6 separate regions of the Homo sapiens genome follow, and regions 1, 2, 3, 5 and 6 are each linked to region 4. Evidence: promoter capture Hi-C in human tissues and cell types (Jung and others, 2019). All regions are on one chromosome and are shown on one strand. Each heading gives the region's core, a stretch centred on a gene start or on the middle of the fragment in contact. The rest is flanking DNA. Distances are from core to core; before and after follow the strand shown. Region 1 has its middle 110 kb from the start of LINC02511. Region 2 has its middle 160 kb from the start of LINC02511. Region 3 overlaps LOC101927414 (a long non-coding RNA gene). Region 4 holds the start of PCDH18 (protocadherin 18). Region 5 has its middle 140 kb from the start of LINC02511. Region 6 holds the start of LOC105377444 (a long non-coding RNA gene).

Region 1 (3,849 bases), core at 198-2,697, 210 kb after region 4:
CATTTTTATTTTTTTCTATTTCTTCTTCTTCTTCTTCTTCTTCTTCTTCTTCTTTGGTTTCTTGTGGTAGAAATTTAGCTTTGAGATTTTTCTGCTGTTCCGAGCATCTATAAATTTCCCTCTGAGCATTGCTTTAGCTACTTTGTTGCTTTAGCACTGTTCTAGTGCTTTTTCTCTAAGACTGGCTATAGCCACATATTTTGATATTGCTTTCATTTAGTTCTGAGTATTTTCTACTTTCTCTTGAGACTTGTTTTCTGACCCGCAAATTCTTTAGAAATGTGCTGTTTAATTTCCAAACACTTGAAGATTTTCCTGTCCTCTTTCTGTATTTGTCTTATTTAATTCAATTATGCTCAAAGAAAACAATTAGTATCATTTACATTTTTTAAAATTTATTGAAGTGTGTTTTATTACCCTCCCCCCCCACAAAAGAGCCTGCCTTGTTGAACATTACGTGTACATCTAAAAAGTGATATGGTTTGATTGTGTATCCACCCAAATCTCACCTTGAATTGTAATAATCCACATGTGTCAAAGGCAGGGCCAGGTGGAGATAATTGACTCATGGGGGTGGTTTTCCCCATATTGTTCTCGTGGTAGTGAATAAATCTCATGAGACCTGATGGTTTTATAAATGGGAGATCCCCTACACAAGCTCTCTTGCCTGCCACCGTGTAATGGGTGACTTTGCTCCTCATTTGCCTTCTGCCATGGTTGTGAGACCTCCCCAGCCATGTGGAACTGTGAGTCAATTAAGCCTCTTTCCTTTATAAATGACCCAGCCTTGAATAGGTCTTTATTGGCAGTGTGAGAACAGACTAATTGTCTAATACAGTTTACACTAATAATCCAGTAAATTGGTATCAGGTAGTGAGGCACTGCTGTAAAGATACCTGAAAATGTGGAAGCGACTTTGGAACTGGGTAACAGGCAGAGGTTGGAACAGTTTGGAGGGCTCAGAAGAAGACAGGAGGATGTGGGAAAGTTTGGAACTTCCTAGAGACTTGTTAAGTGGCTTTGAACAAAATGCTGATAGCGATATGAATAATAAGGTCCAGGGTGAGGTGGTCTCAGATGGAGATGAAGAACTTGTTGGGAACTGGAGCAAAGGTGACTCTTGCTATGTTTTAGCACAGACTGGTGGCATTTTGCCCCTGCCCTAGAGATCTGTGAAACTTTGAACTTGAGAGAGATGATTTAATGTATCTGGTGAAAGAAATTTCTAAGTGGCAACATGTTCAAGAGGAGGTAGAGCATAGAAGTTTGGGAAATTTTCAGCCTGATGATGCAGTAGAAAAAAAAATTTTCTGGGGAGTAATTCAAGCTGTCTGTGGAAATTTGCATAAGTAATGAGGAGCTGAATGTTAATCACCAAGCCAATCGGGAAAATGTCTCCAGGGCATGTCAGAGACCTTCACAGCAGCCCCTCATATCACAAGCCAGAGGCCTAAGAGGAAAAATTGGTTTTGTGGGCCGAGCCCAGCGCTCCCTGCTGTGTGTAGCCTGGGGACTTAGTGCCCAGGTCCCAGATGCTTCAGTCATAGCTAAAAGGGACGAAGGTACAGCTCAGGCTGTGGCTCCAGAGGATGCAAGCCCCAAACCCTGGCAGCTTCCACATGATGTTGAGCCTGCGGGTAAACAGAAGTCAAGAATTGAGGTTTGTGAACCTCCATAGATGTCAGAGGATGTATGGAAATGCCTGTGTGTCCAGGCAGAAGTTTGCTGCAGGGGTGGGTCCCTGCTAGGGCAGCGTGGAAGAGAAATGTGGGGTTGAAACCCCAACACAGAGTCCCCACTGGGACACTGTCTAGTGGAGCTGTGAGAAGAGGGCTATGATCCTGCAGAGTCCAGAATGGCAGAATCATGGACAGTTTGTACCGTGTGCTTGGAAAAGCCTCATACACTCAATGCCAGCCCATGAAAACAGCCAGGTATGGGGATATACCCTGTAAAGCCACAGGAGCGGAGCTGCCCAAGGCCATGGGAACCCACCTTTGGCAACATCATTACCTGGGTAAAATAACCTGGATGTGAGACATGGAGTCAAAGGAGATCATTTTGGAGCTTTAAGATTTGACTGCCCTGCTGGATTTCAGACTTGCATGTGGCCTGTAACCTCTTCATTTTGGCCAATTTCTCCCATTTGGAAAGGGTGTATTCACCCAATACCTGTACTCCCATTGTATCTAGGAAGTAACTAACTTATTTTTTATTTTACAGGCTCATAGGTGGAAAGGACTTGTCTCAGATGAAACTTTAGACTTGGACTTTTGAGTTAATGCTGGAATGAATTAAGACATTGAGGGACTGTCAGGAAGGCATGATTGGGTTTCAAATGTGAGGACATGGGACTTGGGAGGGGCCAGGGGCAGAATGATATGGTTTGGCTGTGTCCCCATCCAAATCTCAAATTGAATTGTAATAATCCCCACATGTCAAGGGTGGGGTCAGGTGGAGATAATTGAATTACAGGGGTGGTTTCCTCCATACTGTTCTCTTGGTCGTGAATAAGTCTTATGAGATCTGATAATATTATAAATAGGAGTTTCCCTACACAAGCTCTCTTGCCTGCTGCCATGTAATAGATGACTTTGCTCCTCATTCACATTCGGCAATGATTGTGATGCCTCCCCAGCCGTCTGGAACTGTGAGTCAATTAAACCTCTTTCCTTTATAAGTTACCCAGACTTGGGTATATCTTTATTAGCAGCCTGAGAACAGACTAATACAAAAAGTCTGTATATCCTGCTGTTGTTGATCATAGTGTTCTGTAAATGTTCATTAGATTGCACTTATTCATTCTTCTATATCCTTGCTGATTTTCTGACCAGAAGTTCTGTTTATTACTGAGAAAGGAATGTTAAAATCGCCAACTACTATTTTTGATTTGGTTATATTTCCTTTCAGTTGGGTCAATTTTTACTTCGCATATTTTGCAACCAATTTCATACACATTTAGAATGGTTATTTCATCTTGTTGAATTGGCCATTTTAGCATTATGTAAAATTCTTAATGCCTTGTAACATTTTTGGTTTGTTTTGATGTCTAATTTGTCTGATATTAATATAGACATGTTAATGTTTTATTTTAAATCAATATATTTTAGATGAGTTACTTGTAGACAGAATACCACTAGATTTTTGTTTTTATCCAACTTACTATTCCTGTCTTTTAATTGGTGTGTTTAGATTTTTTCCTTCAATGTAATTATAGACATTCTTAGATTAGGTCTACAATTTTATTATTTATTTTCTGTTTATTCCCCCTGTTTTCCCTTTCCTGCCTCTTTTGGATTACTTGAATAATTTGTAGTATTTCATTTTAATTAATCTATTCTGTATATAATTTTTGTTGTTATTCTAGCAATTACAATATACATACTTAATGTTATGCAGTCTACTTTGACTCAGTATTTTAACACTTCAGCTGAAATGTAGAAAACCTAATCCCTCAAAGACCCCTTAACAACCTCTGCCTTTATTGTAACAGTACTAAGAGGTGGGGACTTTAACAGGTGATTAGGTTACAAGGGTTCTACCATCATGAATGAATTAATGCAATTATCATGGTAGTAGGTTAGTTATCATGGGAGTAGCTTTATTATAAATGCAAGTTCTCTCTCACAAGCACTTTTTGCCCTCCCTTCTTTTTGCCATGGGATAATCCTTAGCAGATTCCGGCAGCATTGGGCTTTCCATCATTCATAATCATGAGCTGAATAAAGTTATTTTCTTTATGAATTGCTCAGTCTGTGGCATCTGTCATAGCAGCAGAAAATGGACAGAGACACAATCTGAACAGAGAAAATGAGCAGAAAAAAGATGAAGAAAGTCTTTGGCAGCTCT
Region 2 (3,518 bases), core at 71-2,570, 160 kb after region 4:
ACTGCTATGTTTTGGGGTTTCTTATGCTTTCAGGATAGATTATTTTAGATATTCTCACACGACCTTGCTATTCCTGGTCTCTCATGAAAAATTAAAACATTTTTATGTTTTATGTTTTATGACTTAAAACCATTCTTACCTCTTTCATTTCGTCTTGGTGCACAAGTTCAGGGTTACATAAAATTTGTTTCATTAGGAAATTGTAGAGCAGATTGAGGTTACCAATAAAATGTCTTAGAAAGTTATTGCCAAGGAACTGAATTCATTTTGTTGGTTGCTCTCTGTTTTTATAGTCTTTGCTTTTGTTCCTCGACACAAACATACACACACACACACGCACAAACACACACTTACTTATAATTCCTGAGCAATTTATAAACCAAGCCACCTTTAAGCCTCAGAAGCAAATCAGATCCATGAGGCTGTGTGCCAAGGCAACTGTGCGTCAGAATGTAACACAACATGGAGCTTCATAGTTGACCGTGGTCAAAGAACTTTAACTCCCAAAGCTCTCAGCCTTTGTTTTGCCTCAGTGTTTATCCATGTATTCATTTACAAAACTTTTTATTAAGAGCCAATGTGAACAAGAAGGAAATTCTTTCTTTCTTTTATTATTATTTTTTTTTGAGACAGTGTCTTGCTCTATCACCCAGGCTGGAGTGCGGTGGCTCGATCTCTGCTCACTGCAACTTTCACCTCCTGGGTTGAAACAATTCCCCTGCCTCAGCCTCCTGAGTAACTGGGATTACAGGCATGCACCACCATGCCCGGCTAATTTTTTGTATTTTTAGTAGAGAAGCAGTTTCACCATATTGGTCAGGCTGGTCTTGAACTCCTGGCCTCAAGTGATCTGCCAGCCTCGGCCTGCCAAAGTGCTGGGATTATAGGTGTGAGCCACTGAGCCCGGCCTACAATGGAAATAATTTCTGCCCTTGTGAGATTTACAGTCTAGTAGGGGAGACATTAAACATGAAAACCAAAACATATATATCCATAACAAAATATATGCATGTTATGAGTTTGACTGTAATGGCTTAATCAACTAGGGATTTGTTTTCTCATATTAAAAAAGTTTTGTTGTGACAGATTCTAATTTCCAAAGATGGATATACCAATATATTCTATCTTAAATGTTCTTTCCATAATTGAGAGGTAGAGCTTATGCTGTTTCCTCTTGAATAAGGTGGGGTTCAACTATTACAAAAGTAACACTATGTAACTTCCATGTCTAAATTATAAAGGAAAGAAAGCTTTTGTCTGATCCTTTTAGGAGGCTTGATCTTAGAAAACAGCTGTCCTTCGGTACAGAATCCAAGCAGCCACATGGATTGGCCATGTGTAGGATTTCCAGCCCCAACCCCAGAACAAGCTGAAGACTCAGCCAATAGTTACCATCAACCTCTATTATTTTCCCGAATGAGTTTTCAAGTGATTCTAACACTGTTTTCAAATTTCCCTGACTGACACTGAGTGAAGCAGAAATGAACTCTCTCTGATGAACCCTGGCCAAACTGCAGATTTGTGAGTAAAATTAATGTTGTCATTCAAGTCACTAAGTTTTGGGTTTGTTTGAGCAGACTTTGATATCTGTAAGTGGGATTCTGGCAAATATATATATTTAACATATATAAAAAACATTTAATTTTATGTGTTTTATATAAAACATTTAATTTTATGTATTTGTGTGTATGGCTTTGCAAACAAGTGGCAAGCGGACAAAAGGAAGCTTGACAAATCTTGAAAGAAGAGGTAATAAAAGCCAAAAAGTAAGAGATTATTAATGAAGCCCGATGGCTCTCAAAAAAACTATCAATGAGAGATTTGAGAAAAGTAGATACTGGTGGCCGGAGGAAAGGGTACACTTGTTATGTGGTATTAGAAAGTTTAGAAACTTTGTCACTTGTAGTAACATGAAAAATAGGATATCTGTTTAATGATCTAGACCACCACTTATCTCAGATGTTTCCCAGGGAAGTTTTGAAGATGCTGCTTGCTTCTTCCTGTCTATAGTAAAATAAGAAAGGAACAAGTTATGCTAAACAGATTGTTAGGTACACATGAACTAGTATTTACTGAATTAAAAAAAATACTTTCTCATTTCCTGCTTATTTAGATATAGAAAAAGAGATGCTAAAATTAAGAAATGACTTCTGAGCAAATATCAAATCCAGGGTGATGTCCATGGTATAGAGAACCAGAACAACAGTAACAATCCAGAGTGTTTCCTCTTTCTGCTTTGCCGTCTTAAGCATGTGGATTTTCTGCTCATATTCACATAATGGCTGTTCCATCTGCACATATTGCATCTTATTCCACATAGGAGGGAGGATGCAGCCAAAGGGCTAAGGTTGCATAAGTTACCAGGATCTCTCTGTTTCAATTTCAAAATTACTAAATAGTGGTTAATAATGGTAACTATCTCATGAGTCATTTGTAAGAATTACATTTGTTTATAAGTATAAAGCATTTTGAATCATGCTAGAAATATGAGTGCCACAATAGTATCTGCTTAAACGGAGAGGAAACAAGCATAAGCATGTTCTTCTGATTGGTAAAGCAATACCTTTTGCAAAAGTCCTGATTTGCAGCATTATTTTTACCTCACTTTGGCCAAAATTGAGTCACATGGTTTTAATGGGGTACAATTCCACATTCAGGAGTATCAAAGCCTTAACAGCAAGGAAAAAGAAAAAAATGGACACTGGATGGGCAGCCATGGTTATGTCCTGAAAAACGTATTGAAAGCCCATGTGACCATATACTAGGAATTCTGAACCTAGCCTGAGGACCTACAATACATAATGTAAGCTAGAAATATTTAGCAAGAATTTATAATACATATTTGTGACATAATTTTTGATATTGATAGAGTACTTAGGAGTAATATTAGGGGATAACCATAATAAACTTTGAAGACTAAAGTAACAATGCATTTGCTCATTTAAGCCATTACGTGTGTATATAAACATTTTTTTCTTATACATACATTCACATATTTACAATTTCCAATGTTTGCATTCCTTCCTTTTTATCTGAGTTACACTCTGGTGTCATTTTTGTATCTTGTAGATATTCTTAAACATTTTTTTGTTGTACGATATCAACACTTCCTTTCAGATTTGGACTACCTAAAAATACATATTTTCATTTTGAAGGATAGTTTCAGTGATATGGCATTTTTAATTGACTTTTAAAACATATCGTAATATATTACTTGAATTATCTTTTAAGTATTCATTGCTTCTGCTGAGAAGTTAGCTATTAATTGCATTGCTAATATAATTATATAAAATGTTAGTTTTCTCTTGCTGTTTTCAAGATTTCCTTTTCTCATTTGGCTTTATGCAGTCTGACTATGCTGTGACATATATATATTTTATATATATATCACCTTATATATATATGTATATATTGCAAAGAGAATATAGAGAGCTCACATATACTCTCCTCTCCCCAGTTTCCCTTAAGATATTAAATTACTATGGTACATTTATTACAATATTTTAATATTGATACAT
Region 3 (3,823 bases), core at 1,129-3,628, 150 kb before region 4:
GAAATATTTTTAACTTTAAATTAAACATACAATGCAATAGTTTTTAAAAAGTTATCTTCCTAGAACAAAACACATTTCAGGAAGCATGGAGTTTTAAAAGATTCATTTAATGAAGAAATTGAGTAATCTTGCATTAAGCATAAAGGCAGATAGGTAACTTTTATATCAGCTGATTAAGACTAATGAGATTTGGCATTTCCAACTCCAGTGACCTTTATGAAAATCATAGGCTGTCTCTTAAATTCATCATATTGAACTAGAGATAACAAATATACATGCTGAATTGACCTTTTTAATTGCAATCTGAAGTTGAAAATTACACCTTTTGATCTTCTTGGTTTGAAGTTCAAAGTAGGTGTTTAATACTACAGAGGGCTCAGTTAATTTGAATTCTTAACTTTCTGTACGAACCATTATGCTTAAGGTCCATTTATATTATCTGTCGTAATGAGTGAAATGTAGCTAGCACCAATAAGGTGGCATTCATTAACACTGAAACTTATTACCTAACATGTATCACAATTGTATATATCTTATTTTCTTAAGTGGGAATATAGCAATTTGTACAGTGTAGGAATATGCATCAACTCTTTAAGTTAGTGACAAAATGATAATAAAATGCATCTTCTGATCAACTAAATGACATTATGGATAGGTAAGGAGAAATTATGTGCTGTTTTGAAAGTAGAATGTTTACCATATTTAAGAAATGAACCATGTGAGTAAGAATGAAGAGTATGTTTATAAAGGTTAGAAGTTCCCTAATCTCCCTCTCTTATAAATTTTTACAATTTTAAACAAATGTGTTTCTCTGAAAAAAAAATTTAAGTAGCTATTCAGGAGCATACATTTGTAGCTGCAATTATATATTATAAAAATAATGGTAAAATGGATCCTGCTTAAAATATCCCTAGTGTTAATTATGATTTATTAGTTTGCATAGTCTGGAAAAGGAGAAATATAATGATCAAACCTCCTTTCCAAACACATTTTATTATAGTTACTATTAATTTGGAGGCCGGGAAGTGAAAATAAATTGCTGGAAGGCAAATGAATTCCCATTTGTGTGGTATGGGCTTTTTCCATTTGCACAGTTTCATCATCATAACAAAACATATTAATATGCATACTGTTTGTATGACATTTTGTTAAACTGGATGAATGAATATTTATCAAAATCCAACTATCTAAACTTTATTAGGGCCAGGCATGGTGGCTCATGCCTGTAATCACAGCACTGTGGGAGGCTAGGGCGGGCGGATCGCTTGAGGTTAGGAGTTCGAGACCAGCCTGGCGAAAACCCTGTCCCTCCTAAAAATACAAAAATTAGCTGGGTGTGGTGGCTCATGCCTGTAATCCCAGCTACTCTGGGAGGATGAGGCAGGAGAATCACTTGAGCCCGGGATGTGGAGGCTGCAGTGAGCCCAAATTGCACTACCACACTCCAGCCTGGGCGACAGAGCAAAACTCTGTCTCAAAAAAATAAATAAAATTTAAAAAAAAAACTTTATTAGAACATTTCACTGACTTTTCACTATTGACAGAATCAAACATTAGTTATCCAAATGGTACTAACCTGTCCTAGGAATAGAGTTTAAAAGTGTTTGAACCACCTAATGATACCACATTCTGGCGTTGTGATAAAACATGCTTCTCTAATTTCTTCAATATCTAAAGTACTAACCCATTTGAAAGGATCAGACATAATACCATGCACAAGACTAGAAACGTTTTCTGCATATTTTCTGATATGTTGAATTTTTATTTAGTTTTTATAACTAAAGGGCTATTTTACTTAATACAAATTTCACCTGTAGGTTGTTAACAATCACTTAACCTCTTTAAACTTTTAGCTGTTCTAAAACTAAAGAATAACTAAGATTGCTCCAGCTATGTTATTCTATGATCTGTAAAACTCAGTACAACTCTGAAAGTTGAAAAGGCCCTTCAATCATCAGCTGAATCTTTCAGCATGCAACAGAAGTATGAACATTAATGATCTATTTAAGATTCACTGTCAGAAATATTTTAGGCTGACAGAAAACCATCTAATATTTTATGTCGGTATATTTTAGTAATAGATGATGACACAACTTCAACTAATGTGTCAAGCACAATATTTAATATTCTTCTGGGAAGATTATTTCAAATTATAAATCAAAATCAAAATAAACAACAGTGCTTCACTTGAAAATCATAAATATCTGTCAAATGCCAATGAATGGTTTATTATGCAGAAGTCAAATATTGATAGATGGAGTGACTTGTACAGTTGTTATAGCTATTTTCAAAGCTGTCCATTCTTAGAAGACCCTCAATGTGATCAATAAGCATATTAATAGGGCAACCAAGAACTGTAGGAAACCTTTTTTTATTTTTTCACCTCTACTACTCTCCTCCACATTTTTTGTTATAAAGTGTTCTGTTTCCTATTTGTAATATATTTCAAACAGAGACTTAAACTTCTCATAGCCTAAAGGAAAAACAAAAACTTTTGGAATAGCTGTAGTTGTAAGTCAAGGGTACCAGGGGGAAAACAGTTGCTTGCATCTTATCTCTTCCTCTAAACATTCAGGCAAGACCCATTCATGTCGATGAGGACAGAACAGCTCGAGCCTCTTGGCAACTCTATGCTATCATTGCATCTCATTGCAAAGCAGACAATATTTATGCTTACATTCTGAAAAAATAAAAGAAAAGACTACCTTTGATAAAAGATATCTGCATTAGAATTACTGAATTATCCAATCTGTGTACTGCTGATCTTCATCACTTCATTCTGATTTACTTTTACCCTATGATTGAACAAATCAAACAGTTATTGGTGTAATCCTCTCCCACTTTTTTAATCTAGTAAAGGAGAAATGGATGCCCTGCACCTCTTAACTCACAAATATACAAATTACATGGCATTAAATTACATTGATTTTGAAATAATGTTAATAATGCGACATGATTCATATAATTTAAGAGGCTAAGGGATCACATTGTTGGCAACACATGAAAAAATTAATGTTATTATTGGGGTCAAATAGAACCTCCACTTGAAAGTACCTTTTTCCAGTTGATCTTGAATTCTCTATATTCTCTCTATGTACAAAAATGAAAATGATTAATTTGCACATATGCTTTAGGCAACAGTAGGGTATATCTCATTATATAATTTTCATAGCATTGATGGATGAGAAACATAGAGGTAAAATGCCAGTAGTAGTATAAGAGAAGTAGCTTTATTATAGAATAAAATTTCATATGAATCTTGTGAATGAAGAATTCAGTGTGTATGTCTATATATGTGCATGTGTCTCTGAAAATGATTTATGAGTGAACCTTAAAAAATAACATGAAATAGACATATAGCATCCATATAAAACATTCCACCCCACCTCTCCCAGGCTGGAGAGCAAATGCATGTTGTATCTACCTGCCTATGTTAAAATTTTAGTTTCACTGGAGTCATCATAAACAGTTTTGAGTGTACACTAGTATAGTGGACCATCGTTATTCAGGTTAATAAATTCTTCACTCACAATTGGTTGGGTAGGGATGGTGGTAGAAACTTAGCTAGCCAAGCTTCATCCTAAGAGTCTCAGAGTTACCATTGACAGTGGATGATCCTTCTTAGAAAGCAAAAAGAGAGAAAGGTTGGTGCTTGAGTAAACTTCCACAGGTATTATTTTTCTAGTTTTTCTATGAGGCTATGTATTTGGATCTATTTTGTGCTGTGTTGTATGTATGCCCTTTTTCCTCTGTACATGAGGAAAAACACAATTATCTGCAGGCTGTTTGTTGAAGGAAAGGGGCTTTTGTTGTACACCTGGAA
Region 4 (3,794 bases), core at 1,019-3,518:
GGAAGCTGAAAAGGAAATAATATGTGGTAAGGATGATATTGCAAGTGAAAAAAGCCACTGTTGGTGAAAGAATGCCAAGTTCTTTAAATACTTACTCATAGAAACATATCATTTTGGAGGATATATTATTTTACAAGTTATTTAATATTTCAGTAAGTTACAGTGAAGCTCTTTTTCACAATGATTATTTCTGTTCAAGCCCACTGTCAGAAATAAAAGAGCTTTTTATTATTTTTACTTTTTAAGCATAAAAAAAATCCGTATCAAGGTAATCAAATCGATTGCTCTTGAAGTTTTTTGGGGGGTAGACTTATCAAATTCTGAAAGAAAATTTTCCTAGAACTAATGGAATTAGGTTACCTTTGAATTCTCACCCCAACTTTGAATAGTCACTAATTCCTTTCTTTGCTCTTTTGGTGTTTGCAAAGGGGTTCGCTAAAGCCTGAATTGATATAATTATTGGCTCAGATTGTTAGAGATCTAGGCCAGATGGCTATGGGTTTCTAAAGTCCCCCTTGCTTGTGGTAGTTTTCCTAGTTTGCCTATAGGGTTTGGGGATCAGCAATTTGAAAGGGCTACAAACTTGTAAAACAGTATTATTCATGGGGGCAGAATGTTCATCAGCGTGACCCAGTACTAAATACATTCATTATAGGCATTTCTATTCTGCACAATTTGCCACACAGCACTGATTTCAGGAGGGGGAAAAAAAGACAATGGCTTATAAAATGCTTTTGAATGCCTAAAAAGAAGGAGAATTCACGCTGAGACTCCTCTGCTTTCTTTTTTGGAAAGAGCCTTCTTAGTGACTTTAGCTGAGCTCTGCTGAGAGTAAGCAAAGTGGAAAAATCAGAAAATTACTTTTTTTATATGTTTCTGGGGGGCAAAATAGACAGTGAGAAAAAATAAATGGAAAAAAGTGACAATGACATTCTGTGAAACAGCAAATATGCAAGCGGATGAAGACAGCTGAGGAATAAGGAAAAAGGTATGAAAAAAAGCAGCAAAAATGGAGCCACGATGATAAACTTAAAAGGAATTGCAGAGCAGAAAGAACATCATAAATAATCATATTTTCAAATAAGAATACCGTATCAGTTTCTGTGACCTGGATAGAGCACAAGCCTCCCATGATATTTCCTAGCATTTTGATGCATACAAAATGCAATTTTCAGCTCAGGCATTTGATTTGTCAGTGTAAACAACCTTTGGGGTTTTTAAAATACATATCTGAAGTGTTTTCATAAATAATGCATATATTATAAAAATTTGACTTGTAAACTATTGAGTCCATGTCCCCCCTGTATTCACTGCAAAGACTAGCCATGTATAGATAGTGCCTTTTGGTAGAAATTGGCATGCTAAAGCTTGCAGTGTCTTTTACCCAAGATAAATAGGATTTTTTTGAAGTACAGGACAAAGAAATATTACAAACAATTTTGCCCAAACTCAAGGAAAGAAATCATACAAGGTAGAACTATATTGTTAATTAGTTCCAAATTCTGAGGTGTTCCCTTAAGTCTTGCTAATTAAGAGAAATGAAGAGTGCAAGATAGCCCTTTTTTTATCTTCAAAGAATAAAGATGAAAGAAAACAGAAAATGAAACCTCTTTACTTGCTCCGTTCTTTAAAAACAGAGCCCCAAGAAAATCTGCTTGTGCTCCTGGAAGGAGAAAGGCCCAAGTATTTACAGAGGGAGTGGGGAAGGAGGTGGTCTGAGAAGCATAATTAGAAGCAAGTTTTCAAATTGTATTAAATTCCTCCACCAACAAAACGCACTTAGAGGTATTTTAAGTTAAACTAGCACTTAAGGACTATGAAAAGCAAGATGATTACATGTCTGTGGCAGAAGAAAGGGCAATTAAGAAAACAAGAAGAATTTAACGTGCCATATAAATAAAGGCGACCAGAAGTTGATTTAAAGTTTTTCTTCTGTAATTTGTCTCCCCTTTGTCATGGCACGCTCAGAGAAAGTGAATGCAGTAGATTGAAAGGCGGAGGGGGAGTGGGGAGGAAGAAGGAAGGAACAGGGAAGGACTGGCTCCCATCTCCTCCCCCAGCCCCCACCAGCCCATCTCCCCTTCTCTCCCTCGCGCACCCACCCCCGCCTTCCTCCTTCTCCGTCTCTTTCTCTCTCCCACCCTCCACTCTCGCCCTCCCTCCTTGGGTGACTCCATCAGCTTTTGATTTGGAAGCACGCTGATTGGCTGGAAGCGATTCAACACACGCTGGGCAAGAGCTTTGTCTGAGTTGAAGTGAAGTTGTACAGATTTTAGACTGGAGTCAGCAATCACGGGTGTTTAGTCTGCAGCCGAGCAGCTAAAGGGAGAAAGAATCGCTCAGGAAAGACACACTGCAGACTCCACCGGCACCCTGCAATAGATGGATTCCGACTACACAAGGGAGAAAACGCGGAGGTGACACTCTCCTGCCTGGAAAGAGGACGAACGACCAAACAAACGCAAGGACTGGACTCCATGCCGAAGGTATCTGGAAGTCGTGACACGGTGTGTATAAAACAAAAGTTTGCGAGCTGTTAATTGCTGTGCTGTGTTATTAAGAGACGCTTTCAAGTTTCAAGTACCAAATGTAGCTTTACGTTGCCAAAGGAAGTTGAGGCAATTGCTTTGCTGTTTTAACTTGCTCTGTGAGGGAAATCTCATAAACTGACCAATGCACCAAATGAATGCTAAAATGCACTTTAGGTTTGTTTTTGCACTTCTGATAGTATCTTTCAACCACGATGTACTGGGCAAGAATTTGAAATACAGGATTTATGAGGAACAGAGGGTTGGATCAGTAATTGCAAGACTATCAGAGGATGTGGCTGATGTTTTATTGAAGCTTCCTAATCCTTCTACTGTTCGATTTCGAGCCATGCAGAGGGGAAATTCTCCTCTACTTGTAGTAAACGAGGATAATGGGGAAATCAGCATAGGGGCTACAATTGACCGTGAACAACTGTGCCAGAAAAACTTGAACTGTTCCATAGAGTTTGATGTGATCACTCTACCCACAGAGCATCTGCAGCTTTTCCATATTGAAGTTGAAGTGCTGGATATTAATGACAATTCTCCCCAGTTTTCAAGATCTCTCATACCTATTGAGATATCTGAGAGTGCAGCAGTTGGGACTCGCATTCCCCTGGACAGTGCATTTGATCCAGATGTTGGGGAAAATTCCCTCCACACATACTCGCTCTCTGCCAATGATTTTTTTAATATCGAGGTTCGGACCAGGACTGATGGAGCCAAGTATGCAGAACTCATAGTGGTCAGAGAGTTAGATCGGGAGCTGAAGTCAAGCTACGAGCTTCAGCTCACTGCCTCAGACATGGGAGTACCTCAGAGGTCTGGCTCATCCATACTAAAAATAAGCATTTCAGACTCCAATGACAACAGCCCTGCTTTTGAGCAGCAATCTTATATAATACAACTCTTAGAAAACTCCCCGGTTGGCACTTTGCTCTTAGATCTGAATGCCACGGATCCAGATGAGGGCGCTAATGGGAAAATTGTATATTCCTTCAGCAGTCATGTGTCTCCCAAAATTATGGAGACTTTTAAAATTGATTCTGAAAGAGGACATTTGACTCTTTTCAAGCAAGTGGATTATGAAATCACCAAATCCTATGAGATTGATGTTCAGGCTCAAGATTTGGGTCCAAATTCAATCCCAGCCCATTGCAAAATTATAATTAAGGTTGTGGATGTTAATGACAATAAACCTGAAATTAACATCAACCTCATGTCCCCTGGAAAAGAAGAAATATCTTATATTTTTGAAGGGGATCC
Region 5 (4,052 bases), core at 739-3,238, 180 kb after region 4:
TGTGTTTTTCAGCTCCGTCAGGTCATTTATGTTTCTCTCTAAATTGGTTATTCTAGTTAGCAGTTCCTGTAACCTTTTATCAGGTTCTTAGCTTCCTTGCATTGGGTTAGAACATGCTCTTTGGCTTGTAGTAGTTTGTTATTACCCACCTTCTTCTGTCAATTCATCAAACTCATTCTCTGTCCAGTTTTGTGCCCTTGCTGGCAAAGAGTTGTGATCCTTTGGAGGAGAAGAGGTATTCTAGGTTTTGGATTTTTCAGCATTTCTGCACTGGTTTTGCCTCATCTTCATGGATTTATCTACTTTTGATCTTTGACGCTGATGACCTTTGGATGGGGTTTTTGCGTGGGCATCCTTTTTGTTGACGTTGATGTTATTGCTTTCTGTTTGTTAGTTTTCCTTCTAACAGTTAGGCCTCTTTTCTGAAAGTCTGCAGGAGTTTGCCGGAGGTCCACTCCAGACTCTTTTTGCCTGGGCATTACCAGCAGAGGCTGCAGAACAGCAAGTATTGCTGCCTGCTCCTTCCTCTGGAAGCTTCATCCCAGAGGGGCACCACCCTGATGCTAGCTAGAGCTCTCCTGTATGAGATGTCTGTCGACCTCTGTTGGGAGGTATCTCCCAGTCAGGAGGCACTGGGATCATGGAGCCACTTGAGGTGGCAGTCTGTCCCTTGGCAGAGCTTGAGCTCTGTGCTGGGAGATCTGCTACTCTCTTCAGAGCCAGCAGGCAGGAACGTTTAAGTCTGCTGAAGCTGCACCAACAGCCATTCTTTCCCCCAGGTGCTCTGTCCCAGGGAGATGAGAGTTTTATCTATAAGCCCCTGGCTGGTGCTGCTGCCTTTCTTTTAGAGATACCCTGCCCAGAGAGGAGGAATCTAGAGAGGCAGCCTGACTACAGCGGCTTTGCCATGCTGCAGTGGGCTCCACCCAGTCCAAACTTCCCAGGGGCTTTGTTTACACTGTGAGGGGAAAACTGCCTACTCAAGCCTCAGTAATGTTGGACACCCCTCCCTGCGCCAAGCTCCAGTGTCCCACGTCAACTTCAGACTGCTGTGCTGGCAGCAAGAATTTCAAGCCAGTGGATCTTAGCTTGCTGGGCTCTGTGGGTGTAGGACTCACTGAACAAGACCCCGTGGCTCCCTGGCTTCAGCCCCCTTTCCAGGGGAATGAATGGTTCTGTCTTGCTGGGGTTCCAGGCACCACTAGGGTATGAAAAAAAAAAAAAAAAAAAAACAAACTCCTGCAGTCAGCTCTGTGTCTGCCCAAACAGCCGTCCAGTCTTGTGCTTGAAACCCAGGGCTGTGGTGGTACAGCACACAAGGAAATCTTCTGGTCTACAGGTTGCAAAAACTGTGGGAAAAGTATAGTATCTGAGTCAGATAGCACAGTCCCTCATGGCTTCCCTTGGCTAAGGGAGGGAGGTCCCTGGCCCCTTGCACTTCCTGGGTGAGGCAACACCCCACCCTGCTTCTGCTTGCCCTCCGTGGGCTGCACACACTGTCTAACCAGTCCCAGTGACATAAACTGGGTATCTCAGTTGGAAATGCAGAAATCACCCACCTTCTGCATTGGTCTCACTTGGAGCTGCAGACCAGAAGTGTTCCTATTTGGCCATCTTGCCAGATCTGCGAATTTTATTTTATTTTTTGTATTTATAGCCGAATACTATTCCATTGTGCACATACACTGCATTTTCTTTATCCATTCATTTGTTGACATCCACTCTGGTAGATTCCATTTACTAATTATTGTGAATAGTGCTCGAAAGAACATGTGACTACAGACATATCTTTGAGAAACTGATTTCAAATCATTTGGGTAAAAACCAGAAGTGGTATTGCTGGATCATATGGTAATTCTATTTTTAGTTTTTTGAGGAACCTCCATAGTGTTTTCCATAATGGTTGTACTAATTGACATTCCAATAAATAGTGTAAAAGTGTTCCTTTTTCTCTACATCCGTGACTACACTTGTTATCTTTAGTCTTTTTTTTTTTTTCTAAATGGAGTTTCGCTCTTGTTGCCCAAGCTGGAGTGCAATGGCACTATCTTAGCTCACTGCAACTTCTGCCTGCTAGTTCAAGCGATTCTCCTGCCTCAACCTTCTGAGTAGCTGAGATTACAGGTGCACACCTCCACTTCTGGCTAATTTTTTGTATTTTTAGTAGAAATGGGGTTTCACCATGTTAGCCAGGCTGGTCTCGAACTCCTGACCTCAGGTGTTCCCCCCACCGCTTCCAGCGTCCTAGCATGCTGGGATTACAGACGAGAGCCACCATGCCTGCCCAGCCTCTTTAGTCTTTTTTATATAGCCATGCTAACAGATTGTGAGGTGATTCTCATTGTGATTTTAATTTTCATTTTTCTAATGATTTGTGATGTTGAGCATTTTTCATATACCCATAGGTCATTCATATGTCTCCTTTTGAGAAATATCTATCCAGATTGTTAGAAAAAATCAGATTATTATTATATTATCTGCTCTTGAGTTGAGTTCCTTTTATATTCTGGTTATTAATCTGTGTCAGATGGACAATTTGAAAATATTTTGCCCCATTTTATAGGTTATCCTTTCACTCTGCACATTCTTTCCTTTTCTGTGCAGAAGTTGTTTTTTAGCTTAATGTAATCTCATCTGTCTAGTTTTGATTTTGTTGCCTGTGCTTTTGAGGTCATAATCCCTAATTTTTTTCCCAGGCCAATGTCCTAAAGCATTTCCCCAATGCTATCTTCCAGAAGTTTTATAGCTTCAGGTCTTACATTTAGGTCTTTAATCTGTTTTGATTTGGTTTTTGTATCTATTGAGAGATAGGAGTCTAGTTTTATTATGTTGCATATGGATATCCAGTTTCCCCAGCATACTTTATTGGAAAGACTGTCCTTTCTCCAGTGTATGTTCTTGGGAACTTTGTTGAAAATGAGTTGACTGTAAATGCAGAGATTTATTTCTGGATTCTTTTTTTCTGTTCCATATGTCTATGTGTCTATTTTTAAGGGAATACCTTGCTGACTTGGTTACTATAGCTTGGTAGTATATTTTGAAGTCAGATAGTATGATGATGTCAGCTTTGTTATTTTGTTCAGAATTGCTTTATTTGTTTTTTTTTTTTTTTTGGTAGGGATATACAAATTTTAGGATTTTTTTTTTCTATTTCGGTGAAAAACGTCATTGGTATTTTGATAGAGATTACATTAAATCTGTGGATTTTTTTGAGTAGTATGGTTATTTTAACATGATCATTTTTTCCAATCCATGGGCATGGGAATACCTTTCCAATTTTGTGTCCTCTTCAATCTCTTGTATTGACGTTTTATTGTTTTCATTGTAGAGATTCCTGCCTCAGTTTCATTTGTGATAAGAAGGTATAAGGAAGTAAAGGAATGCTTCAACAGCTAAGCTTTGAATCCTTAAACTAGTCAAAATAATTCTCTTGTTGAGATTCTGGAGTTTTAAAAATCTGCCTCCATTTCTTAGTGATATAAACCTTCAGATTTATTTATTTTTGTATAATTTCATCTCTGTATGATTAGAAACTTTTTTATTGGAACCATTATGATTGTAATAAGCTCCAAGTGAAAATCTTTAATTATCTTACAAGGAAATTTTTTTTTTAAGTTTTATCAAAATATCTGACTGTGACTCTCACTTTTGAATTTATATTTTGATTATCTGGTAACCGTACTGAAAACATGCCTTATGCCGTTATTGCTATAACATTCTCAGAAAATTCTTTTCTATATCTAAATTCCTTGTTTCAAGACTTGTATTGTTTCAAGATTATTGCTGTAACATTCTCAGAAAATTATTTTCTATATCTAAATTCCTTGTTTCAAGACTTGGATTGGCCAGGCATGGTGGCTCACACCTGTAATCCCAGCACTTTGGGAGGCCAAGGCGGGTGGATCAGGAGGTCAGGTGATTGGGACCAACCTGCCTAACGCGGTGTAACCCTGTCTCTACTAAAAATACAAAAATATTAGCCACGGGTGGTGGTGGGCGCCTGTATTCCCAGCTACTCAGGAGGCTGAGGCAGGAGAATGGCATGAACCCGG
Region 6 (3,622 bases), core at 1,055-3,554, 200 kb before region 4:
ATTGGAACTCGGTACTTCTGTGTCACAGTGAAGCACAACACGGCAGAATTCTGCTGGTGCCACAGAGGGAGCATGTAGACCAGCCCTGGGCTAGAGGGGAATGCCCTGCCCCAGTGGGAGAAAACCAAGTCCCTGCCAGTTTCATCACTGACTGACTAAAGTGGCCTGGGGCCCAGAATAAATCTGAGAGGCAGTCAGGCCATAGGATTACAGTTATTGGGCAAGCCCTGGTCCCAGCTGCACTGGTCTCAGGGGCAATGGACTTGGGTTGTGCATGACCCATTGTAACACCAGCCGTGGCAACCAAGGAGTGTCTATCTCATCCCTCCCCCTACTCCATCCAGTACAGCTCAGGAGGAGACTCTTCACTTGGAGAATGGACAGGGAAGAGTACAAAAACATTGTCGTGCAACTTGGTTTCCAGCTCAGCTACAGTAAAATAAAGCACTAGGCAGATTTCTGAAGGCCCTAATTCCAGGTCTGAGCTCCTGAATGACATTTTTAGACCCACACTGGGACAGAAGGGAATCTGCTATCCTGAAGGGAAGGATCCATTTCTGGCTGGATTCACCATCTACTGACAAAAGAGCCCCTGGTCGTGGAATAAACATCGGCAGTAGCCAGGTAGTAGTCATCATGGGCCTTGGACAAGACCCAGTACTGTGCTGCCCTCGATTACCCAGCACACTCCCAGCTGTGGTGGCCACAGAATTGCCCTCCCCCAACTCCAGGCAGCCTAACAGGAAGGGAAATTCCTTCTGATTAGCGGGAAGAGAGGGAAGGGAGTGAGAGCCTTTGCTTAGTAATTCCCTTAGTAACCCAGGGAATTCTTTCTTTTAAAAAAAATTACTTTAAGTTCTGGGATATATGTGCTGAACGTGCAAGTTTGTTACATAGGTATACATGTGCGGTGGTGGTTTGCTACACCTATCCACCCGTCATCTAGGTTTTAAACCCGGCATGTGTTAGGTTTTTGTTATAATGCTCTCCCTTCCCTTTTCCCCGACTCCCCGACAGGCCCCGCTGTGTAATTACGTCTGGAATTGGTGGGTTCTTGGTCTCACCGACTTCAAGAATGAAGCCGTGGATCCTCGTGGTGAGTGTTACAGCTCTTAAGGTGACGCACCTGGAGTTTGTTCCTTCTGATGTTCAGATGTGTTTGGAGTTTCTTCCTTCTGGTGGGTTCGTGGTCTCGTTGGCTCAGGAGTGAAGTTGCAGACCTTGGCGGTGAGTGTTAGAGCTCTTAAGGTAGTGCATCTGGAGTTGTTCATTCCTCCCGGTGGGCTTGTGGGCTCTCTAGCTTCAGGAGTGAAGCTGCAGATCTTCGCAGTGAGTGTTACAGCTCATGAAAGCAGTGTGGAGTCAAAGAGTGAGCAGTAGCAAGATTTATTGCAAAGAGCGAAAGAACAAAGCTTCCACAGGGTGGAAGGGGACCCAAGCGGGTTGCCACTGCTGGCTCCGGCAGCCTGCTTTTATTCTCTTATCTGGCCCCACCCATGTCCTGCTGATTGGTAGAGCCGCGTGGTCTGTTTTGACAGGGCGCTGATTGGTGCGTTTACAATCCCTGAGCTAGACACAAAGGTTCTCCACATCCCCACCAGATTAGTTAGATACAGAGTATGGACACAAAGGTTCTCCAAGGCCCCACCAGAGTAGCTAGATACAGAGTGTCGATTGGTGCACTCACAAACCCTGAGCTAGACACAGGGTGCTGATTGGTGGGTTTACAAACCTTGAGCTAGATATAGAGTGCCGATTGGTGTATTTACAATCCCTGAGCTAGACATAAAGGTTCTCCACGTCCCCACCAGACTCAGGAGCCCAGCTGGCTTCACCTAGTGGATCCCGCACTGGGGCCGCAGGTGGAGCTGCCTGCCAGTCCTGTGCCGTGCACCGGCACTTCTCAGCCCTCGGGTGGTCAATGGGACTCGGTGCCGTGGAGCAGGGGGTGGCACTGGTTGGGGAGGCTCCCGCCGCATAGGAGCCCATGGAGGGGGTGGGAGGCTTAGGCATGGCGGGCTGCAGGTCCGGAGCCCTGCCCCACGGGAAGGCAGCTAAGGCCCGGTGAGAAATCGAGCGCAGCGCCGGCGGGCTGGCACTGCTGGGAGACCCAGTACACCCTCCGCAGCCGCTGGCCCGGATGCTAAGCCCCTTATTGCCCAGGGCCTGCAGGGCGGACCAGCTGCTTCGAGTGCGGGGCCGCCAAGCTCACGCCCACCCAGAACTCCAGCTGGCCGGCAAGCGCCGCGCGCAGCCCTGGCTCCCGCTGGCGCCTCTCCCTTCACACCTTCCTGCAAGCTAAGGGAGTGGGCTCCGGCCTTGGCCAGCCCAGAAAGGGGCTCCCACTGTGCATCGGCGGGCTGAAGGGCTCCTCAAGTGCCGCCAAAGTGGGAGCCCAGGCAGAGGAGGCGCCGAGAGCGAGCGAGGGCTGTGAGGACTGCCAGCAGCTCTCATAATGTTCACCTCCCTGTGTCCATGTGTTCTCATTGTTCAACTCCCACTTATGAGTGAGAACATGCGATGTTTGGTTTTCTGTTCCTGTGTTAGTTTGCTGAGGATGATGGTTTCCAAAAAATACGGAAGGCTTCACGAATTTTCTTTCTTATCTTACTCAAGCCTGCCGCTCCCTCTAGGAGTCCCTTAAGGGTGCAGCATTCCTGAGCTTAGGGAGCCCCCTAGTGCTGATATGGATGCAATGACCACGGGCTTAGATCACAGCACTCAACCCCTTCTAAACACATGGAAAGCCTTTTCAAGGACCAGTACAAACAAGCCCAGACTCTCAAGATCAAAATAAATACCTATCTCTTCAATGCCTAGACCTTGACAAATGTCCACAAGCATTAAGAATATGAAAGGAGGCCGGGCGCGGTGGCTCACGCCTGTAATCCCAGCACTTTGGGAGGCCGAGACGGGCGGATCACGAGGTCAGGAGATGGAGACCATCCTGGCTAACACGGTGAAACCCCATCTCTACTAAAAATACAAAAAAAATTAGCCGGGCGTGGTGGCGGGCACCTGTAGTCCCAGCTACTCGCGAGGCTGAGGCAGGAGAATGGCGTGAACCCAGGAGGCGGAGCTTGCAGTGAGCCGAGATCACGCCACTGCACTCCAGCCTGGGCGACAGAGTGAGATTCCGTTTCAAAAAACAAAACAAAAAAGAATTTGAAAGGAAACATGACATCTCCAAATAAAAGCACCAGTGACCAATCTTAGAGTGTTAGAGATATGTGACCTTTCAGACAGAGAATTCAAAATAGCTGTCTATAGGAAGGTCAGTGAACTTGAAAATAACACAGAGAATTTAGAATTCTATCAGAGAAACACAACAAAAAGACTGGAATAATAATTTTTAAAAATCAAGCAGAAATTCTGGAACTAAAAATTCAATTGACAAACTGAAAAATACATCAGTCTCCTAAAAGCAGAATTGACTAAGCATAAAGAAATAGCAAACTTGAAGACAGGCTATATGAAAATACACAGACAGAAAAGAAAAAAAAATAAAGACACACAACTACAAGATCTAGAAAAAAAGCCTCAAAGGGGAAAATCTAAGAGTGATTGGCTTTATAGAAATTGGAGAGAGTGAGAGAGAGATCAAAGTAGAAAATTTATTCAA

Evidence for each region. The method cuts DNA at HindIII sites, captures the fragments that hold promoters and counts their contacts. A contact is called where the count stands out against the background at its distance.
Region 1: a fragment that was not itself captured here is called in contact with the fragment with the promoter of PCDH18 in region 4 in 1 of the 25 tissues and cell types used here (mesenchymal stem cells).
Region 2: a fragment that was not itself captured here is called in contact with the fragment with the promoter of PCDH18 in region 4 in 1 of the 25 tissues and cell types used here (H1 embryonic stem cells).
Region 3: a fragment that was not itself captured here is called in contact with the fragment with the promoter of PCDH18 in region 4 in 1 of the 25 tissues and cell types used here (spleen).
Region 5: a contact is called between a fragment that was not itself captured here and the fragment with the promoter of PCDH18 in region 4, in 1 of the 25 tissues and cell types used here (IMR-90 fibroblasts).
Region 6: a fragment that was not itself captured here is called in contact with the fragment with the promoter of PCDH18 in region 4 in 2 of the 25 tissues and cell types used here (H1 embryonic stem cells and heart left ventricle).

Annotation. Positions count from the first base shown.
Region 1 is chr4:137,318,916-137,322,764 of GRCh38, reverse strand. No RefSeq gene overlaps it. Among named protein-coding and RNA genes, the nearest start is that of LINC02511, 110 kb to the right of the region's middle. The HindIII fragment of the contact is 5,837 bases long and covers 1-3,849 here.
Region 2 is chr4:137,366,704-137,370,221 of GRCh38, reverse strand. No RefSeq gene overlaps it. Among named protein-coding and RNA genes, the nearest start is that of LINC02511, 160 kb to the right of the region's middle. The HindIII fragment of the contact is 4,770 bases long and covers 1-3,518 here.
Region 3 is chr4:137,681,506-137,685,328 of GRCh38, reverse strand. The region is part of intron 2 of LOC101927414 (a long non-coding RNA gene); the gene reads left to right. Among named protein-coding and RNA genes, the nearest start is that of LINC02172, 140 kb to the right of the region's middle. The HindIII fragment of the contact is 5,413 bases long and covers 1-3,823 here.
Region 4 is chr4:137,530,968-137,534,761 of GRCh38, reverse strand. It overlaps PCDH18 (protocadherin 18), which reads left to right and starts at 2,268. Exons shown (of 4, transcript NM_019035.5): 1 at 2,268-3,794. The coding sequence starts at 2,674. RefSeq lists an enhancer at 2,240-2,359. The HindIII fragment of the contact is 2,929 bases long and covers 428-3,356 here.
Region 5 is chr4:137,348,151-137,352,202 of GRCh38, reverse strand. No RefSeq gene overlaps it. Among named protein-coding and RNA genes, the nearest start is that of LINC02511, 140 kb to the right of the region's middle. RefSeq lists an enhancer at 783-1,284. The HindIII fragment of the contact is 5,891 bases long and covers 1-4,052 here.
Region 6 is chr4:137,732,394-137,736,015 of GRCh38, reverse strand. LOC105377444 (a long non-coding RNA gene) reads left to right here and starts at 1,059. Exons shown (of 2, transcript XR_939236.1): 1 at 1,059-1,096. The HindIII fragment of the contact is 4,539 bases long and covers 35-3,622 here.